4 separate regions of the Homo sapiens genome follow, and all the other regions are linked to region 4. The links are contacts of gene promoters, found by promoter capture Hi-C in blood cells and fetal thymus (Javierre and others, 2016). All regions are on one chromosome and are shown on one strand. The core of a region is centred on a gene start or on the middle of the fragment in contact, and the rest is flanking DNA. Distances in the headings are between cores, read along the strand shown. Region 1 overlaps TSPAN16 (tetraspanin 16). Region 2 holds the start of TSPAN16-AS1 (TSPAN16 antisense RNA 1). Region 3 holds the start of ANGPTL8 (angiopoietin like 8). Region 4 holds the start of ELAVL3 (ELAV like RNA binding protein 3).

What was found. Contacts are between HindIII fragments. The CHiCAGO score rates a contact against its expected background, and 5 or more counts as called.
Region 1: a fragment that was not itself captured here is called in contact with the fragment with the promoter of ELAVL3 in region 4 in 2 of 17 cell types (erythroblasts and endothelial precursors); the score reaches 7.3 in erythroblasts.
Region 2: a contact is called between a fragment that was not itself captured here and the fragment with the promoter of ELAVL3 in region 4, in 2 of 17 cell types (erythroblasts and endothelial precursors). The highest score is 6.1, in erythroblasts.
Region 3: the fragment with the promoter of ANGPTL8 here is called in contact with the fragment with the promoter of ELAVL3 in region 4 in 10 of 17 cell types (neutrophils, M2 macrophages, M0 macrophages and 7 more); the score reaches 25.1 in neutrophils.

The regions. Positions count from the first base shown.
Region 1 is chr19:11,300,456-11,303,155 of GRCh38, reverse strand. TSPAN16 (tetraspanin 16) reads right to left here. Exons shown (of 7, transcript NM_001282509.2): 4 at 1,848-1,955. It overlaps TSPAN16-AS1 (TSPAN16 antisense RNA 1), which reads left to right. Exons shown (of 3, transcript NR_187778.1): 2 at 1,524-1,661; 3 at 1,920-2,365. Among named protein-coding and RNA genes, the nearest start is that of TSPAN16, 5.6 kb to the right of the region's middle. The HindIII fragment of the contact is 4,606 bases long and covers 1-2,700 here.
Region 2 is chr19:11,318,927-11,321,626 of GRCh38, reverse strand. It overlaps TSPAN16-AS1 (TSPAN16 antisense RNA 1), which reads left to right and starts at 302. Exons shown (of 3, transcript NR_187778.1): 1 at 302-403. It also overlaps a transcript of TSPAN16 not described here. The HindIII fragment of the contact is 4,796 bases long and covers 1-2,700 here.
Region 3 is chr19:11,238,186-11,240,885 of GRCh38, reverse strand. It overlaps ANGPTL8 (angiopoietin like 8), which reads right to left and starts at 1,267. Exons shown (of 4, transcript NM_018687.7): 1 at 952-1,267; 2 at 590-751. The coding sequence starts at 1,248. DOCK6 (dedicator of cytokinesis 6) reads left to right here. Exons shown (of 48, transcript NM_020812.4): 15 at 2,582-2,699. The HindIII fragment of the contact is 20,410 bases long and covers 1-2,700 here.
Region 4 is chr19:11,479,775-11,482,474 of GRCh38, reverse strand. ELAVL3 (ELAV like RNA binding protein 3) reads left to right here and starts at 1,429. Exons shown (of 7, transcript NM_001420.4): 1 at 1,429-1,875. The coding sequence starts at 1,867. RefSeq lists silencers at 1-62, 93-342. The HindIII fragment of the contact is 20,383 bases long and covers 1-2,700 here.

The DNA of each region.
Region 1 (2,700 bases), core at 20-2,519, 180 kb after region 4:
CAACCATCCGATTTCTCAATCTTTTCCCCACCTTTCCCCCCTTTCTATTCCACAAAGCCGCGATTGTCATCCTGGCCCGTTCTCAATGAGCTGTTGGGCACACCTCCCAGACGGGGTGGTGGCGGGGCAGAGGGGCTCCTCACTTCCCAGTAGGGGCGGCCGGGCAGAGGCGCCCCTCACCTCCCGGACGGGGCGGCTGAGGCCAGGAGTTTTTAAGATCAGCCTGAGCAACATGGTGAAACCCCATATCTACAAAAAAAAAAAAAAAAATTAGCCAGGCATGGTGGCACGAACCTGCAGTCCCAGCTACTCAAGAGGCTGAGGTGGGAAGGTTGCTTCAGCCTGGGAGGCAGAGGTTGCAGTGAGCCATGATCCCCTTACCGCACTCCAGCCTGGGCAACAGAGTGAGATCCTGTCTCAAAAATATATATGTGAATATATATATGTATGTGTGTGTGTGTGTGTGTGTGTGTGTGTATATATATATATATATATGTATGTGTATATATATATGTATGTGTGTATATATATATTTATATACATATGTATATAAATATATATGTATATATACAAAGCAGAATTGCCATAGAATCTAGCAAATCCCTTTTTTTTTTTTTTTTTTTTTTTGAGATGGAGCCTCACTCTGTTGCCCAGGCTGCAATGCAGTGGCATGATCCTGGCTCACCGCAGCCTCTGCCTCCCGGATTCAAGCGATTCTCCTGCCTCAGCCTCCCGAGTAGCTGGGATTACAGGCACACGCCACCATGCCTGGCTAATGTTTGTATTTTTAGTAAAGACACACACTGCCTGATTTCACTCCTAGGAGGTCCCTAGAGTCGTCAGATTCATATAGACAGACAGGAGCATGGTGGGTGCCAGGGGCTTGGGGAGGGAGAATGTGGAGTGAGCGTTTCATGGGACAGAGTTTTAGTTTGGGAAGATAAGGAAGTTCTAGAGATGGTGGTGATGGTCGCACAACAATGCGAATGTGCTTAATGCCGCTGAACTGCACACTTCAAAATTGTTAAATGGGGCCGGGCACGGTGGCTCACGCCTATAATCCCAGAACTTTGGGATGCCAAGGCGGGTGGATCACCTGAGGTCAGGAGTTTGAGACCAGCCTGACCCATATGGTGAAACCCCGTCTCTACTAAAAATACAAAAATTAGCCAGGTGTGGTGGTGGGCGCCTCTAATCCCAGCTACTTGGGAGGCTAAGACAGGAGAATTGCTTGAACCTGGGAGGTGGAGGTTGCAGTGAGCTGAGATTGCGCCACTGCACTCCAGCCTAGGCAACAGAATGAGACTCCAACTCAAAAAAAAAAAAATGTTAAACGATACATTTCATGTTTACAAGATACAGGGTCTTGCTCTGTCACCCAGGCTAGAGTGCAGTGGCACCATCATAGTTCACTGAAGCCTTGACTTCCTGGACTCAAGTGATCCTCCCACCTCAGCCTCCTTAGTAGCTGGGACCACAAGCATGTGCCACTGTGACTGGCTTTTTTTTTTTTTTTTAAACAGAGCCTCCCTCTGTCGCCCAGGCTGGGATGCAGTGGTGCCATCTCAACTCACTGCAACCTCTACCTCCTGGGTTCGAGCTATTCTCCTGCCTCAGCCTCCTGAGTAGCTGAGACTACAGATGCCTGCCACCACACGGAGGTAATTTTTGTATTTTTAGTAGAGACGGGGTTTCACCATGTTGGCTCAGCTGGTCTCAAACTCCTGACCTCAAGTGATCCTCCCACCTCGGCCTCCCAAAGTGCTGGGATTACAGGTGTGAGCCACTTCGCCCGCCCATGTTGTGTACCTTTACACCACAATTTTTTTTTTTTAAGTAAGCCTCACCTTCTCCATGACCAAGTTCCACTGTGTAGAATAGTCGTCTGGCTCGTTGTAACCTCTGTAATTCTTCCTCAGGGTCACGAAGGTGTGTTCCAAGGCCACATCTCCAACCTCACAGAGAGGACAGGAAGTGATCAGTACCCCAACTAGCAAGAGTGGCCCGTTCATTGGCCGAGGTTCTTGAGGATAGAGTGGGAGGTGGGAGCGTCCCTCGTGCTGCCTTCATTTTTCCTACCCTCAGCTCAGGGGTCTGTGCTAGAGGAAGACACACGAAGGCTACTGTGCCCCCACCACAAGAGAGGGAAACAGGGAGACGCGTGGGTCTGGAGCCAAGCGTATCTCTCTGTACCCATCGCACACGAATTTGAATCATCTGCTCTTTGGAATCGCCTACACCCTGCTGCACCCACGATGTGGCTGTAACTCCATTAAAGAATTGAATATCATCTTCCACGGAATCTCTGTCTGCACAAAAGGGGCACATTTAATTTTCTGTTTTTTAAATAAAGGTTTAAAAAATCCTTTTGCAAAGCGATGATAGAGGCACGTGGTTCGAAATTGACATGCACAGGAGAACAGACCATGAAAAGTCTCTCTCCCACCCCTTCCTCCCAGCCAAAAGTTTCCTCCCACTCCATGCCAATGACTGTTAACTGTTTCCTGTGTCCCCAAAGAGATGTTCTTCTATGTGTGTCAAAGCAAAGTATATTTTCACTATTCTTCCTCTTTGGTTTATGCTGCACTCATTTTTCTGCGTCTGGCTGTTCTCGACAGGAGTAGCAGGGGCTCTTGGTGGCCTGCCCATAACTCTGTGGCCCTTGTCAGTTCTGTGCCTACTGGCCTGACTCCCTAGTGC
Region 2 (2,700 bases), core at 1-2,500, 160 kb after region 4:
GGCCTACTTGCTGCTATCTGAACATACCAGGCCCCTGCCCCAAGGCCTTTGCCCAGAATGTTCCCCCTGCCTCTGCCTGGATGGCCCTTACCCAAGGTAGTCACAGTTGATATGGTTTGGCTTTGTGTCCCCACCCAAATCTCATCTGGAATTGTAATCCCCATAATCCTCACGTGTCAAGGGAGAGACCAGGTGGAGGTCATTGAATCCTGGGGGCGGTTCCCCCATGCTGTTCTCCTGATAGCAAGTGAGTTCTCACGAGATCTGATGGTTTTATAAGGGATTCTTCCGCCTTCTCTCGGCTCTTCTCCTTCCTGCCACCTTGTGAAGAAGGTATCTGGCTTCCCCTTTGCCTTCTGTTATAATTGTAAATTTCCTGAGGCCTCCCCAGCCATGTTGAACTGTGAGTAAATTAAACCTCTTATGTTTTTTTGGGTATTTTTTTGTTTTTTTTTTTTTGAGACTCAGTCCTACTCTGCCACCCAGCTGGAGTGCAGTGGTGCCATCTTGGCTCACTGCAACCTCCGCCTCCCAGGTTCAAGCAATTCTCCTGCCTCAGCCTCCCGAGTAGCTGGGATTACAGGCACACTCCACTACGCCTGGCTAATTTTTGTGTTTTTAGTAGAGACGGGGTTTCACCACGTTGGCCAGGCTGGTCTCGAACGCCTGACCTCATGATCTGCCCACCTTGGCCTCCCAAAATGCTGGGATTACAGGCGTGAACCACCGTACACGGGCAAACCTCTTTCCTTTATAAATTACCCAGTCTTGGGCAGTTCTTTCCAGCAGTAGGAAAACAGACTAATACAACAAAGCTCCCCTAACTGAACTTCCTCTTTTGGGCTACTGTGCAAATCTCACTTTCTCACTGCCCCCTCCCCTGATTTAGTACTGCAATCTCCCTCCCCAGCATTTCTTTTTTCTTTTTCTTTTCTTTTCTTTTTTTTTTTTTTGGAGACAAGGTCTTGCCGTATGGCCCTGGCTGGAGTGCAGTGGCACAATCATGGCTCACTGCAGCCTCGAACTCCTGGACTCAAAGGATCCTCCCACTTCAGCCTCCTGAGTTTCTGGAACTACAAGCAAGCACCACCACATCCAGCTGATTGAGTGATTGAGAGATGGGATCTTGCTATGTTGCCCAGGCTGGTCTTGAACTCCCAGCTTCCAGCCATGCTCCCGCCTTGGCCTCCCAAAGTGCTAGGATTGGCCAGGTGTGGTGGCTCATGCCTGTCATTCCAGCACTTTGGGAGGCTGAGGCAGGAGGATCACTTGAGGTCAGGAGTTTGAGATCAGCCTGGCCAACATGACAAAACCCCATCTCTACTAAAAATATAACAAATAGCTGGGCCTGGTGGCACATGCCTGTAATCCCAGCTACTCGGGAGGCTGAGGCGGGAGAATCGCTTGAACAAGTGGGGCAGAAGTTGGGGTGTGCCGAGATCGTGCCATTGCACTCCAGCCTGGATGACAAGAGAGAAACTCCGTCTCAAAAAAAAAAAAAAAAGTCCTGGCCGGGCGTAGTGGCTCAGGCCTGTAATCCCAGCACCTTGGGAGGCGGAGGCGGGCAGGTCACGAGGTCAAGAGATCGAGATCATCCTGGCTAACACGGTAAGACCCCGTCTCCACTGAAAATACAACAAAAAAATTAGCCGGGCGTGGTGGCGGGCGCCTGTAGTCCCAGCTACGCGGGAGGCTGAGGCAGGAGAATGGCGTGAACCCGGGAGGTGGAGCTTGCAGTGAGCCAAGATCGCGTCACTGCATTCCAGCCTGGGCGACAGAGCGAGACTCCGTCTCAAAAAACAAAACAAAACAAAACAAAATACAACCTAAATGACAGGTTTGGAGAGCTTCTGAGTTGATGAACACATGGAGGTGCTGGAAGGGTGGTGCCCCCCTCCCCAAGAAAGGGTGTGGAAGTGCTGCACACCATCCCCCACACATTGCCCTCTTTATCACTTCCATTTGGCTGTTCCTGAGTTGTCTCCTTTTTTTGTTTTTTTGTTTTGTTTTGTTTTGTTTTGTTTGTTTTGAGACAGAGTCTCGCTCTGTCGCCCAGGCTGGAGTGCAGTGGCGCGATCTCGGCTCACTGCAAGCTCCGCCTCCCGGTTCAAGCGATTCTTCTGCCTCAGCCTCCGGAGTAGCTGGGATTACAGGGCGTGTGCCACCACGCCCGGCTAACTTTTGCATTTTTAGTAGAGACGGGGTTTCATCATATAGGCCAGGCTGGTCTCAGACTCCTTACCTCGTGATCCGCCCGCCTTGGCCTCCCAGAGTGCTGGGATTACAGGCATAAGCCACTGCGCCTGGCCTGAGTTGTCTCCTTTATAATAAATCAGGAGTAGTAAGTAAAACACTTGCCTGAGATCCGTGAGTCATTCTAGCAAATTATCAAACCTGAAAGGGAGGGGGCTTGTGAGAACCCCCCCTGACTTTGTAGCCACATTGGACAGAAATATGGGTAACCTGGGAACTCAATACTTGATACCTCTGAAGTGAGGGAAGCTCAGTTTTGTGGGACTCAGCCCTTAAATCTGTGGGGTCACACACCAACTCTGGGTAATTGGTGTCAGAACTGAATTGTAGAACACCCAGCGGGTGTCCACAGAGAATTGGAGAATTACTTGGTGTGGAAAACCCCACATGTTTGGTGTCAGAAGTGTGGGTAAAAAAGTTTATTTCTGGCTGGGGGCAGTGGCTTAC
Region 3 (2,700 bases), core at 18-2,517, 240 kb after region 4:
GTAGTAAGAATTTATTGGCCAGGTGTAGTGGCTCACACCTGTAATCCCAGCACTTTGGGAAACCGAGGCAGGCAGATCCCTTGAGGTCAGGAGTTCGAGACCAGCCTGGCCAACATGGTGAAATCCCATCTCTACTAAAAAATACAAAAATTAGCTGGTGCACCTGTAATTCCAGCTACTCAGGAGGCTGAGGCAGGAGAATCACTTGAACCTAGGAGGTGGAGGTTGCAGTGAGCCAAGATCACACCACTGCACTCCAGCCTGGGCAACAGTGAGACTCTGTCTCAAAAAAAAAAAAAAAAAGAATTTATTGAGCACCAACTGTGTGCCCGCCCCATGCTGAATATTTTACCTGCATTGAGTACCTGGCCCTACTGTGAGATATCAGGTGTTGCCCTTATTTGCAACTGAGGCACACAAAAGGGAAACTGAGGCACACAAAAGGACTTGAGTTTTGTCTGGGGACATGCAGGGTAGAGGCCACAGAGCTGGGAGGCTGATCTGGGAGGTCTTTGGGACTCAAGGTGCAGAAGCGAGTTCTGGCCGGAAATCAGGGTCTCAGCCCACTAGGGTTGGGGGAGCTCCTTACCTTTAAGACCTCAAATTCTCGGTAGGCAGGGCCCAGCCAGGCGCTCCTCAGCTGGACTTCTAGCCGCTGCACGCTGTCCCGTAGCACCTTCTGTGCCTGGGCCACCTCCCCCAGCACCTCAGCTGTGGCCTCTGCCTGCAGCTGCAGAATATCCTCCTCCATCTGCTTAATAAACAGTGGGTCACTAGTAGGATGTCCAACTCATCTTTGTGTACCTAAGGACTTGCCTGAGTTTATCGCTGAAAATCTTGTATCCCAGGAATCCCTTCAGTCCTGGGCAAACCAGGATGGTTGGTTACCCTAGACACGAACTCCTCTTTGGACTCCTGGCCACCCCACAGTGTCGCAGCTACGGTGCCCACCTGAGTCTCCAACAGGCTTGCCCGAAGTTCCTGGGCTGCATCCCGGCCCCGGCTGACCTCCTGCCCCAGGAGTTCTATTGTGCGGCCATAGAGACCCAGGCTGTTCCTGGCCTTTGTCAGCCGTCCCTCCGTGGTCCTGTACACACCGTTGAGGGCCTGGCCCAGCTGCAGGGTCCCATGGAAGAGCAGGGTCAGCTCCTCATGCTGTGCCAGTTCTGGGCCGCCCATGGGGGCCGCTGAGGCAGGCCGGGTCACCATTGCCAGGGCCCAGAGCAGGCACAGAGCAGGCACTGGCATGACTGAGGGTCTAAGGTATAGCCACAGCACTGTCACTGAAGCCTTTTATGCCTCATACCCCCACTGATCCCCAGTCAATCGTTAACTGGCCGACCTGGTGCCCCGCATTGCACAAGGGCCTGGCAGTGGTGCGATAGTTGCATCAGGCGAATGTCCGGCTAGGCCACGCCGGGATCACGCTTCCTGGGGCTCAGGGCCAGGTGTGGGTGGGGGGCATTGGGAGAGGACGGGCCCCAGACCCTGCTGGGAGTTCCTGAGACTCACCATGCTGAGCCTGTTTCTCCATCTATGAATAGGCATCGCAATGATGATGGTAATAACAGTAAAGATTTTATAAGCATTGATGGTTTGCCCTGAGCTGTTTGACCTGCCATTACAATATCTGCTCTTGTTCCCCTCCCACATACTTGCCACGTGGGGGCTTTTATTGGCCTGGTTAGTATCCAAGGGGGCAGGTGCAGGTGGCAGAGACTCTCCCAAGGTCACACAGCCTGATCTCCAAGACCTGCATATGCCCAGATCACCACTGACTGCCATTTTACTCCGTGGGTGATTGTGCAAGTACCTCAGTTTCCCTGCTTGTAAAATGGCGGTGATGTTAGTCCTGCCTCATGAGCTACTTGTGAGAAGTAAATGAGTTATTTCATGTTGAGTGCTTAGAACAGAGCCTGGCACACAGTAGGCGCGATTATTTCATTGTTGTAGTAATAGTGTTTGGTGCAATTATTGTCATTGTTGTTATTTATCATCATCAGTATCATTACAAAGGCTCAGCTGGAAGGCCTGAAGTGCCCATTATACACATAGGGAAACTGAGGCCCAGAGAGGGGTCAAGGCTTGCACAGAGTTGCCCCTGGGGGAAGGAGGCAGGACTCGGACTCTGGCCTCAGTTTCCCCACCTGAGAAACAGGCCACATAACTCTAGTGACCTCCTGGGGGAAGGGCAGTCAGGCCCTTGGGTGGGGCTTAGGCTTGACCACTGGCCACCTGAGGTACCTTGGAACTCTGGCCCTGAGTGCCTCGCTATTCTCTGCCTTCTGTGTGTCACTGTGCCCCATGAGTGCCTCCAATGTCCTTCTGTATTCCCACCCTCTACCACACTGTTCCCAATCTGTGTTTTTAGGGTGCTCGCTTGTCCCCCACCCTCTGCCCTCTGTCCTATCTCCTGACTGATACCTGTATTACCTCTCACCGGGCCCTCAATGCCCCAGCCTCATGACCTACTCTTCCTGGACTGTCTGTGCTCCCAGCCAGCCTTGTCCCATCACCCCAGCCTTGTATGTGCACCTTCAGGGCCCCTGTCCCTCTGACACCCCCATCCTGCCCCCCACAGGAACCTGCTGTACGTGTACCCGCACAGCCTCAACTTCAGCAGCCGCCAGGGCTCCGTGCGCAACCTTGCTGTGCGAGTGCAGTACATGACAGGCGAGGACCCCAGCCAGGCTCTGCCGG
Region 4 (2,700 bases), core at 180-2,679:
GCACTGCCGGAGCCGGCAGGTTTCCATGGGAACCGCAGCGGGGTCCGCGCGCCCAGGAGCAGCCCCCCTCCTAGCTCAGTTTCCGATGACGGAAACCGGGAGGAACACGGGGTGGGGAACAGACCATCGCTTGGGGCCCCTAGCGCCCGCAGCCAGGTCGCCCCGGCGAGCCCAAGAGGGGCCACCCGGGGATCTGCACCGCCACCGCCCCTATTGCGCGGGCCACTGCGATTGGCCTGCCCTTTCCAGGCGTGGCAGCATCCCCTGGTGCGCGCACTCCCATTGGCTCGATCTCTAGGGCATCTTCCAGTAACTGGTTATCTCAAGGGCCGCCCCTGATTGGGCAAATTAGGCTCTCCTCGCTGGTGGCGCTCTCTGACAGTCTGGAGCCTAAAGGGCGTGCAGGAACGAGGATTGGGTGGGGACTGCCGCTCTCCAGTTAGGGGGTCTGGGCTACCTCGCCGGCAGCGCCCTCGACCGGACTGTCGGATTGCTGTCTGTGGTGCTGAAGCCTCACGCCCTGGCGACCCCGCCCCAGTGTGTGCTAGTTCCCGCGCCCCGACGTAAACATGCACCGGCGCCCGCGCACCAAAGGAGGCTGCGCCACCCCCAACGCCTTAGAGAGAGGCCAGGTTCCCCCTAGCAGAGAGCGAGCATGACTCCACAGTCAGGAGGACCAATCACGAGCCTAGAAAGCCAGGACATTTATGTGGCAGATCCACCCACCCCAGTTCTGTGGGGTCCAAGAAGGATCCGTGGTTTCCCAGAGCTGCATGGCTCCAGCGATGATTGTCCAGAACACTGAGCCCCAAACCTTTTCACCCCCTTCGGAGCAGTGCGGAGTTTCCTTGCACTGGGGAGTGCCAGTCCTTACCTTTTGAACCCTAGAAGGATCCAGCTCACTCAAAACCAACAGCGTCCCAGTCTCCTTCTGCAGAAGACTAGGGCCACAGTAGCCACCCTCCCCCGTGGTCTTGAGGTGGTCTACACTGGTGCCTCCAAATCTGGGGACCCAGGCCTCTGCCTACTAAAATATTGGTTCCTGATCCCCTGTCCAGTTCCCTCAGTGGACAACACCTCTGGAAGGTCGCATATTCAGGCCACTAATACCTCCTCGCTCTGTTGGCTCCTCCAGCTCTAGGAGCTGGACGGAGGAGGGGAGCCCGTCTCCTGGCCCGAAAGCCAGCCCAAGAAGGGGTGCCAGGGTAGGAAGCAAGGGCCTCGAGGGAAGGAGGGCCCAAATCTGGCAACCCGAGCACCTAGGATGCGCTTTTGGGGGATTCAGAGTCCCGACCAGTGCGCGCTCACTTCCACCTGCCGCGCCGTCGGGAGCCGCGAGGAGGCGGAGCTCGGTCGCCGCAGCCAATGAGCGACGCCGGCGCTGGCAGCTGCTGCTATAAAGGGCTGGGGGCGGCGGCGGCGCGGTCCAGAGCGCGGAGCGCGCAGCGCGGGCCGGAGGGAGGGAGGGAGGGTGGGCGAGGGGAGAGGACTTGAACACACGGGACCGGACAGGACCGACCGAGGGGCGGCGGCGAAAGGCAGAGCGCCGCGATCTCTGTCGGGAAGCGCAACCTCCCCGGGCCCCGCGGGGCCGCGCAGGGGGCGTCCTCAACCCCGCGCCCGCTCCCTCTTTCCATCCCCTGCCGCCCGCAGGCCACCCCGGGGCCCGGCCATCCGCGCGCGCATCCCCGGGTTCGGGCCCGTCCCTGGCCCTCGAGGGAGCCGCCGCCTTCATCGCCACATCTGCAGCGGCCGCACCAGAGGCCGCCCGGGCGGGACCCCAGCGTGAGCATCGGGCGCCCCCCTAGGAGTGCACCACCCCCGGAGCCCCCCTCAACACGGACCGCGCCCGCCGGGCACACAAGAATGGTCACTGTAGGTATTCCCCTGTCGCCGAAAGGGAATCGGGACGGGGAGGAGTTGGGCCCAGGCTCCGCGGAGATTGGGCGGGTGCGGCGGGGGGGGTAGGACCAGGCCTAGCTAGGCCCGGGTTGGGGGGGTAGGACCAAGCCTCGGGGCCTGAGAGTGGGCAGGGCCGCGCCCAGAGTGCTGAGGGCGCTTAGAGCTTGGTCTGAGAGGGCCTTAGGGAGACTGACTGCGATTCGGGAGGCGTCCGACGCCGCCCTGGAGGCGGGATTGCCCCCTCTCCAGCAGGCCTGATGGGGGAGGGGCCGCGGCGGCTAAGGATGCTTCCTCCATCCAGGCCCAGACCCCGCAGGCCGCCCAGGCAAACGCAGGGCCCGATCACTGGTGCTGGGCCAAGCCAAAGCGACAAAGCGTCCCCGAGAGCCCTGGGAAAGCGGGTGGCGTCGGATCGCGCGCCCCGGGCCTCGGCCGCACCCGGGAGGCGGGCGTCTCGTCCTCGAGCCCGTCGACCTTGCGGCAAGCGGGGAGGGGAGAGGAGGGGGCGCGCCCGGAGGCCCCGCGGGCCCGCCGCCGCTGCTGCCGCGTCCCTTTGTTTCTCGGCGCTTCTTCGCGGGCCGCAGCCTCGCGCGGGCGCCTCGGGCTGCGGGGAGGGGGAGGGGAGAGGAGGGCCCGCGGGTTGGGGGGGCACCTCTGGGCTCCCGGGTCTCCGCCCCCCGGGAGATGGGGTGGGAGGCCGAGACAGCCCCCTTAGGCCAGGTCCAGGCTCCCCACCTCGCCAAGGCTCTGGGCCGCGAGGTGACCTTGAGCGCGGCCCGCCCGCCTGCTCGCCCGCAC